Regions from separate parts of the Homo sapiens genome. Here all the other regions are linked to region 2. Evidence: promoter capture Hi-C in human tissues and cell types (Jung and others, 2019). All regions are on one chromosome and are shown on one strand. Each heading gives the region's core, a stretch centred on a gene start or on the middle of the fragment in contact. The rest is flanking DNA. Distances are from core to core; before and after follow the strand shown. Region 1 overlaps RNF157 (ring finger protein 157). Region 2 holds the start of UBE2O (ubiquitin conjugating enzyme E2 O). Region 3 has its middle 16 kb from the start of ST6GALNAC2.

Region 1 (2,700 bases), core at 150-2,649, 230 kb after region 2:
TGTATTATTATTATTATTTTGAAATGGAGTCTCACTCTGTCGCCCAGGCTGGAGTCCAATGGCGCAGTCTCAGCTCACTGCAACCTCTGCCTCCCAGGTTCAGGTGATTCTCCGCCTGCCTCAGCCTCCCGAGTAGCTGGGATTACAGGCGCCCACCACCACGCCCGGCTAAGTTTGTATTTTAGTAGAGAGGGGGTTTCACCATGTTGGCCAGGCTGGTCTCGAACTCCTGACCTCAGGTGATTCATCTGCCTCAGCCTCCCAAAGTGCTGGGATTACAGGTGTGAGCCACTGTGCCCAGCCCAAGTGACTGGTTAGTAAGACATGGCAGATGGAACTTTTTTGGTATTTGTTATTTGAGTTGGGGAGACCAGTATATGCTTGTAGGATGAGGTAAGTAAGAAGCCAGTGGAGAGAGAGGAACGCAAGTGTTAAACAAGAAGGATGGTTACAGATGTGGTCTCAGGTGAGGTAGAGGCAGTTGGGAATGAGAACTCAGGTGAAGAAGTTAACCTTGGAAAGGAGGAATGCCTCCTTGAGACTGGAAGAAAGTATGGGTAGAAATATGGGGAAGTTGTTAGGTGTTGAAACTATTGTAATGCATAAGGGTTCTGAGAGCACCACAAGGAAGAAGGGTACAGGGTTGGGGTTGGGACTTGAGAATGTGGGAAGGGTTTTAGACGCATTGATGTGTGCCTTTCTCTAAATGCTGTGAAGCTACCGTTGTTCAGTCTGTGTTGTACTGGTCCAGAATAGAAGAGTCCAGATCTAAGTATATTTAGCATAAGAATAGAATTTAAATTAGTGGGGGGAAATGGAATATTCCATAAATGGTTTTTTTTATTTCTTTTTAGAAAAAAACCCCACAAAGTCTACATCTATGAATTCCATTTGTAAAAAACAGGAAGCAACATAAACTGTAAAGAGAATGTTTATCAGTAGGGAAACAGTTAATTAAATCTGGACATTCAATGGGAATACATTATAATGGTTAAGAGCACAGGTTCTGGAATAAATATAGCTAGATTTGGGGACCTGACACTACCTCTTTTTTTAAATTTTTTTTGAGATGGAGTTTCGCTCTTGTTGCCCAGGCTGGAGTGCAATGGGGCGATCTTGGCTCACCGCAACCTCTGCCTCCCGGGTTCAAGCGATTCTCCTGCCTGAGCCTCCTGAGTAGCTGGGACTACAGGCCTGCATCACCACGCCCGGCTAATTTTGTATTTTTGGTAGAGACAGGGTTTCTCCATGTTGGTCAGGCTGGTCTCCAACTCTCGACCTCAGGTGATCCGCCCACCTCGGCCTCCCAAACTGCTGGGATTACAGGCGTGAGCCACCATGCCGGGCCACTACCTCTTACTATCTGTGTGACCTTGGACAGATTATTTAACCTCTGTGCATTAGTTTCCTCTTCTATAAAATGAAAAGAAAATAGCAACATCTTCAAAGGGTTGTGAAGAATAACCCGTGTAGTACTTGCTAGTACAGTGCTGTTATAGAGTCAGTCCTCTGAAGAGATTATAGGCCAGGCGCAGTGACTCACGCCTGTAATCCCAGCAGTTTGGGAAGCTGAGGTGGGCGGATCACCTGAGGTCAGGAGTTCAAGACCAGCCTGGCCAACATGGTAAAACCCTGTCTCTACTAAAAATACAAAAATTAGCTGAGTGTGGTGGCAGGTGCCTGTAGTCCCAGATACTTGGGAGGCTGAGGCAGGAGAATCTCTTGAACCCAGGAAGCAGAGGTTGCAGTGAGCCAAGATCGTGTCATTCATTGCACTCCAGCCTAGGCGACAAGAGTGAGACTCCCGTCTCAAAAAAAAAAAAAAACAAAAAAAGAGGTTATTAATATTATTTGGCATTTCTACTTTGCCTGCCCACAGATGTAGTTTTTTCCGCACGTGCACGCCTTCCCTCCTCCCCGCCCTCAGGGTCCACGGCCACCATGGCATATTAGGGGCAGCAGTGCCTGCGGCAGCATTGGCCTTTGCAGCGGCGGCAGCAGCACCAGGCTCTGCAGCGGCACCCCCCAGCGGCTTAAGCCATGGCGCTTCCCACGGCATTCAGCAGCAGCATTGCTGTAACCGACAAAGACACCTTCGAATTAAGCACATTACTCGATTCCAGCAAAGCACCGCAACATGACCGAAATGAGCTTCCTGAGCAACGAGGTGTTGGTGGGGGACTTGATGTCCCCCTTCGACCAGTCGGGTTTGGGGGCTGAAGAAAGCATAGGTCTCTTAGATGACTACGTGGAGGTGGCCAAGCACTTCAAACCTCATGGGTTCTCCAGCGACAAGGCTAAGGCGGGCTCCTCCGAATGGCTGACTGTGGATGGGTTGGTCAGTCCCTCCAACAACAGCAAGGAGGATGCCTTCTCTGGGACACATTGGATGTTGGAGAAAATGGATTTGAAGGAGTTCGACTTTGGTGCCCTGTTGGGTATAGATGACCTGGAAACCATGCCAGATGACCTTTTGACCACGTTGGATGACACTTGTAATCTCTTTGCCCCCCTAGTCCAGGAGACTAATAAGGTGCCCCCCCAGATGGTGAACCCAATTGGCCATCTCCCAGAAAGTTTAACAAAACCCGACCAGGTTGCCCCCTTCACCTTCTTGCAACTTCTTCCCCTTTCCCCAGGGGTCCAGTCCTCCACTCCAGATCATTCCTTTAGTTTAGAGCTGGGCAGTGAAGTGGATAT
Region 2 (2,700 bases), core at 157-2,656:
CAGGCATGAGCCACCACGCCTGGCCCTAGAGTTACTTTTTATATTTTATTTATTTTTATTTATTTATTTTTTTGAGACAGAGTCTTGCTCTGTTGCCCAGGGTGGAGTGCAGTGGCGCGATCTGGGCTCACTGCAACCTCAGCCTCCCAGGTTCAAGCGATTTGCCTGCCTCAGCCTCCTGAGTAGCTGGGACTACAGCCATGTGCCACCACGCCCAGCTATTTTTTTTTTTTTTCCGTATTTTTAGTAGAGATGGGGTTTCGCCATGTTGGCCAGGATGGTCTCAATCTCTTGACCTCGTGATCCGCCCACCTCAGCCTCCCAAAGTACTGGGATGACAGGTGTGAGCTGCCGCGCCCGGCCTACTTTTTATATTTTAAAATGACAATATGGAGCAGACCATAACAGTTCTGCCAGTCTGGAATTTAGTCTAGGCAGGGAGTTTGGAAATAGTACAACAATGGTTAAGCTTATCGAAGGAGCTAAATGCCAGGCACTGTTCTACTTCACTTAATCCTCCAATTGCCCAATGAGATGAGTATTGCTATTATCATCCCTATTTCACAGATGAGCAAATTAAGATGAAAATAAGTTAATCAGTGTGCCTATTTTTATAGATTAGTAAGTGGCAGTGCCAAAAATTGGAATCCGTGGTCCCCACTCTTAGCTACCTTACTATACTACCTCTTGCCATTCATTCTTGGCTTCAGGGAGCTTTGAATTTATCTGCATGGATTTGTAGCCAAACCACTGGGACCACTGATCCTTTTGTTACCTTTCTCTGGGCCTCCTTCACCAGCTTCTGGGTCAACTTCTGAGGGGTCATGACGTTCGAACTGCTTGGAATTCCTGAATACAGTGCATTATACATATGCTCTACACGTATCTATTATAGCCTTACAAGTTGGAGTTGTTTGTTATCTATTTAATGTGTATTTGTTTTGTCTCCCCAACTAGACTGGAAACACCTAGAGGACAGGGACAGTATCTTTCTCTTTCTGCAATGCTCCCAGTGCCTGGGGGCTAGGCTAGGACGCCAAGGGAGCTCATTAAAAGTTGTTGACAGTCTCTCCACCATCCTGTGCCCCACCCCGACCACTCCCCTCTTCCTCGGTGGCCACTCCACTTCCTCCTCCCGGGTCCCCGCCCCTTCTCGCTCCCTTTAGTTGAATCCTCACTGGTCTCGCCCCTTCTTAGTGGATTCCATCCTGCCCCCGCCCCCCGCGGCATCTTCAGCGTCCCCTAGCGACGAGGCGGTGGCTCCTAGCAACTGCATCCCGGCTCCCTGACGACGGCGCCACGCAGGGACACGTCAGCGCGCTATGGCCCCGCCCCCGGCGCCCGCTGGTCCCGCCTCCCCGCGCCTCGTTCGCCGCCGCTGTCGCCGCCGCCGCCCGAGACTCGCGCAGAGCAGTTATGGCGGATCCCGCAGCCCCCACGCCCGCAGCTCCCGCTCCAGCCCAGGCCCCGGCTCCAGCCCCGGAGGCAGTCCCGGCCCCAGCCGCAGCCCCCGTCCCGGCGCCGGCGCCCGCCTCGGACTCGGCCTCCGGGCCGTCCTCGGACTCCGGCCCAGAAGCCGGCTCGCAGCGCCTGCTGTTTTCTCACGACCTGGTGTCGGGCCGTTACCGTGGCTCCGTGCACTTCGGGCTGGTGCGCCTCATCCACGGCGAGGACTCGGACTCGGAGGGCGAGGAGGAGGGCCGCGGGAGCTCGGGGTGCTCCGAGGCCGGGGGCGCGGGCCACGAGGAGGGCCGGGCCAGCCCCCTGCGCCGCGGCTACGTGCGCGTCCAGTGGTACCCGGAGGGCGTCAAGCAGCATGTGAAGGAGACCAAGGTGCGGCGGGCGGGGGCTGGGCGGCGCGGGCGGCAGGGGGTCGGCGGCCGGGCCGAGGCCAGGGAAGGACGGCGTGCAGGGCCCTGCCCGGAGCGGTGCCACTGCAGTGGCCGACGCGGGAGGACAGCCCCAGTGGAGGGTACACTCCATGCAAAGTCATTGCAGCAGCTCTGGGCGCACACGCCAGCCAGGCACTGCTGGCCCGGGACCGGGCGGGCCCTGGGCTTCCCGACTTGAGGGGACTTCTAAGACATGTTATGCTGTGGTGTCGGCCTCGAGATTTAGAGACGTGGACCGACTCCCGTGGGGACTCAGGTTCTGGGGCGCGTTCGGCGTTACACCAGTGCGGCGTTTTGCTGACCCCCAAGGAGCTCGGTACTGCATTGTGCATCCAGAAATGAAGGCCGTGCCGGGTCCGTGCAGGGAGGGGTTGTGGGCATTCCAAAACAAAGATAGAGGTGAAAATCCCAGCCGAACCCAAGAAGTTCACTAGCTTACAGGCTGCATTATGGTGAAGCCACCCAGCCTCTTTTTGTTTTACCCTGCTGCCTCCTTTTAATTGCTGCAGGGAACTTTGTGAGTAAAATCATTAGCAATCAGAGCCCCGGTATGAATAGTACTTGGGGGGGAGGATTCTGACAGCTGCGACCGGGATTGATGACTCCTAAGTGCATATGGACTCCTTGAAAAAAATAATCCAGAACCCTGGGTAGAGGGGAGTCACCAATTTGGAAACCCGAAGGTTTTTTCTTGACCTGAAGCTGTTAAGCAGACATCTGACTCCCGTATGGTTTTTGGGGTGATGCTAGTGAGTATAGCAGTTTTACAAAACAAAGAGGCTTGTCATCATAAACCCGAAACCTTGAA
Region 3 (2,700 bases), core at 76-2,575, 150 kb before region 2:
TTTTCTTGACTCCTTCCAGCTTAGACCAAAAACCCCAAGTGCAAGTTCAGGCTTCCAAACTCTACGGCCTCTGATATGGTTTGGATGTGTGTCCCCTCCAAACCTCATGTTGAAACATGATTCCTAATGTTAGATGTGGGGCCTGATGGGGGGTGATTCGATCATGGGGTAGATCCTTCATGAATGGCTCAGCAACATCCCCTTGGTGATAAGTGAGTTTTGCTCAGTTAGTTCATGCAAGGTCTGGTTGTTTAAGAGTCTGGGACCTCTCCCTTCTCTCTATTGCTCTCTCTCCAAGTGACATGCCTGCTCCCACTTCACCTTCCGCCATGAATAAGAGCTCCCTGAGGCCTCACCAGAAGCCAAGCAGATGTGGGCACCATGCTTCCTGTACAGCCTGCAGAACAATGAGCCAATTAAACCTCTTTTCTTTATAAATTATCCACTGTCAGGTATTTATAGCAATGTAAAAACAGACTAACAGCCTCCAACTATGTCCTCTTCCCAAGGAGTGCCCTTGCAATGATTCAAAGCCTGGGCCAGGAATTGAGTGTTTTACCGGTGGGTAAACCATGGCTTATCCATTAAACGTTGCAGCATAATTTATCTTTCAACAACCCCAGTCTCTCTTTCTCTTCCGCCTTTCAGAGTCACTGGTGCAAGGGCTCACACAGTTACTCACGGATTTAACATTATTTTTCCTCTTTTCTCACATGCCTGGGACTTAGACAACTAATTCAGCTGTTTTAGAGGATTTAAAAGGTTAAAGTACAGATCTAACACGTCTCGCAATTCTCTGCTTCTGGGTCAGCAGTTTTTTTGGGTTTTTTGTTTTTTTTTTGAGACAAAGTCTTGTTCTCTCGCCAAGGCTGGAATGTAATGGCACGATCTGGGCTCACTGCAACCTCTGCCTCCCAGGTACAAGTGATTCTCCTGCCTCAGCCTCCCGAGTAGCTGGGATTACAGGTGCCTGCCACCACACCTGGCTAATTTTTGTATTTTTAGTAGAGACGGGATTTCGCCATGTTGGCCAGGCTGGTCTCAAACTCTCGACCTCAGGCGGTCCGCCTGCCTTGGCCTCCCAAAATGCTGGGATTACAGGTGTGAGCCACCATGCCCAGCCTAGGATCAGCAGTTTTTGATCTTGTTCTTTTTTGCAGTGAGGAGTAGGCAAAGGGTCCAAAAGTTGCTCCTGGGTCGAGGGTGCATTGGAGAGATCAAGAGAGATTCAGAAGCAGGACAGATATTTGTGTTAGTAATGTTACAGGCACTTCAACCAGAGTGACTCCATCTTGAATAGGGACTGGGTAAAATGAGGTTGAGACCTGCTGTACTGCATTCCTAGGGGGTTAGACATTCTTAGTCATAGGGTGAGATAGGAGCTCGCAAGATACAGGTCACAAAGACCCTGCTGATAAAACAGGATGCAGTAAAGAAGCCAGCCAAAACCAAGATGGCAACAAATGTAACCTCTAATAGTCCTCACTGCCCATTATATGCTAATTATAATGCATTAGCATGCTAAAGTCACTCCCACCGGCACCATGAAAGCTTAGAAATGCCATGGCAACGTTCAGAAGTTACCTTATATGGTCTAAAAGGGGGAGGAAACCTCATTTCCAAAAAATCCCCACCCGTTTCCTGGAAAACATAATAATCCACTCCTCGTTTAGCATATGATCAAGAGATAACCATAAAAATAGCCACCCACTGGGAGGCGGAGGCGGGTGGATCACAAGGTCAGGAGATTGAGACCATCCAGGCTAACACCATGAAACCCCATCTCTACTAAAAATAAAAATAAATAAAAAAAATAGCCACCCAGCAGCTCTTGGGGCTGCTCTGCCTATGGAATAGCTATTCTTTTGTTTCTTTACTTCTCTAACAAACTTGCTTTCACTTTACTCTGGACTCACCCTAAATTCTTTATTGCATGAGATCCCAGAACCCTCTCTTGGGGTCTGGATTGGGACCCCTTTCTGGTGATAGTAATGGAAAGTCTAAAGTGTACTCAGAGGATAGTGTTGCATTCATGCTGGTCTCCATGGCAGTCCTCACATGTCCTGTTGACTGTATGTATTTATTTTTGAGAGAGGGTCTCACCCCATCACCCAGGCTGGAGTGCAGTGGCGCTATTGCAGCTCTCTGCAGCCTTGAACTCCCAGGCTCAAACGATCCTCCCACCTTAGCTTCCTGCATATGTGCCACCACACCCAGTTAACTTTTTTTCTCTCTTTTTGGTAGAGACAGGGTCTCACGATGTCGCCTAGGCTTGTCTCGAACTCTTGGGCTCAAGCGATCGGCCCACCTCGGCCTCCCAAAGTACTGGGATTACAGGCATAAGTCACTATTCCCTGCTTTGACTGGTATTTAAAGGAAAGCTTAAAGTCAAACATTGTGTTCACAGAAGGAGAAAAGTACACTGTACCAAGCTTGAGGATTTATACTTATCTACAAAATTGTTTGCAAATCGGTTTATACAAAAATGTGGCATTTTCTGGATTATCACATACTGGGTGGGCACAAAGAATAGTTCTGTGTTGGCACTGGGGAACAGGGAACTAGAGGCCTGACCCCGACCCCCTTCACATACACAAACACACACACACACTCACACACACACACTCACGCACACACCAGCTTCCTCAGAATCTCAAGGCAGGTTGGGTGTGGTGGCTTATGCCTGTATCCTAGTATTTT

The links. Contacts are between HindIII fragments. The study calls those that stand out against the background at their distance.
Region 1: a fragment that was not itself captured here is called in contact with the fragment with the promoter of UBE2O in region 2 in 2 of the 25 tissues and cell types used here (aorta and heart right ventricle).
Region 3: a contact is called between a fragment that was not itself captured here and the fragment with the promoter of UBE2O in region 2, in 3 of the 25 tissues and cell types used here (H1 embryonic stem cells, aorta and bladder).

Annotation. Positions count from the first base shown.
Region 1 is chr17:76,226,244-76,228,943 of GRCh38, reverse strand. All of the region lies in intron 1 of RNF157 (ring finger protein 157), which reads left to right. It also overlaps the pseudogene ATF4P3. Among named protein-coding and RNA genes, the nearest start is that of RNF157, 13 kb to the left of the region's middle. The HindIII fragment of the contact is 9,258 bases long and covers 1-2,700 here.
Region 2 is chr17:76,451,858-76,454,557 of GRCh38, reverse strand. It overlaps UBE2O (ubiquitin conjugating enzyme E2 O), which reads left to right and starts at 1,406. Exons shown (of 18, transcript NM_022066.4): 1 at 1,406-1,833. The coding sequence starts at 1,417. It also overlaps a transcript of AANAT not described here. RefSeq lists silencers at 1,232-1,400, 1,195-1,734, 1,855-2,054. The HindIII fragment of the contact is 12,276 bases long and covers 1-2,700 here.
Region 3 is chr17:76,600,723-76,603,422 of GRCh38, reverse strand. No RefSeq gene overlaps it. Among named protein-coding and RNA genes, the nearest start is that of ST6GALNAC2, 16 kb to the right of the region's middle. RefSeq lists enhancers at 571-1,117, 1,118-1,665, 992-2,191 and a silencer at 2,042-2,336. The HindIII fragment of the contact is 3,370 bases long and covers 1-2,700 here.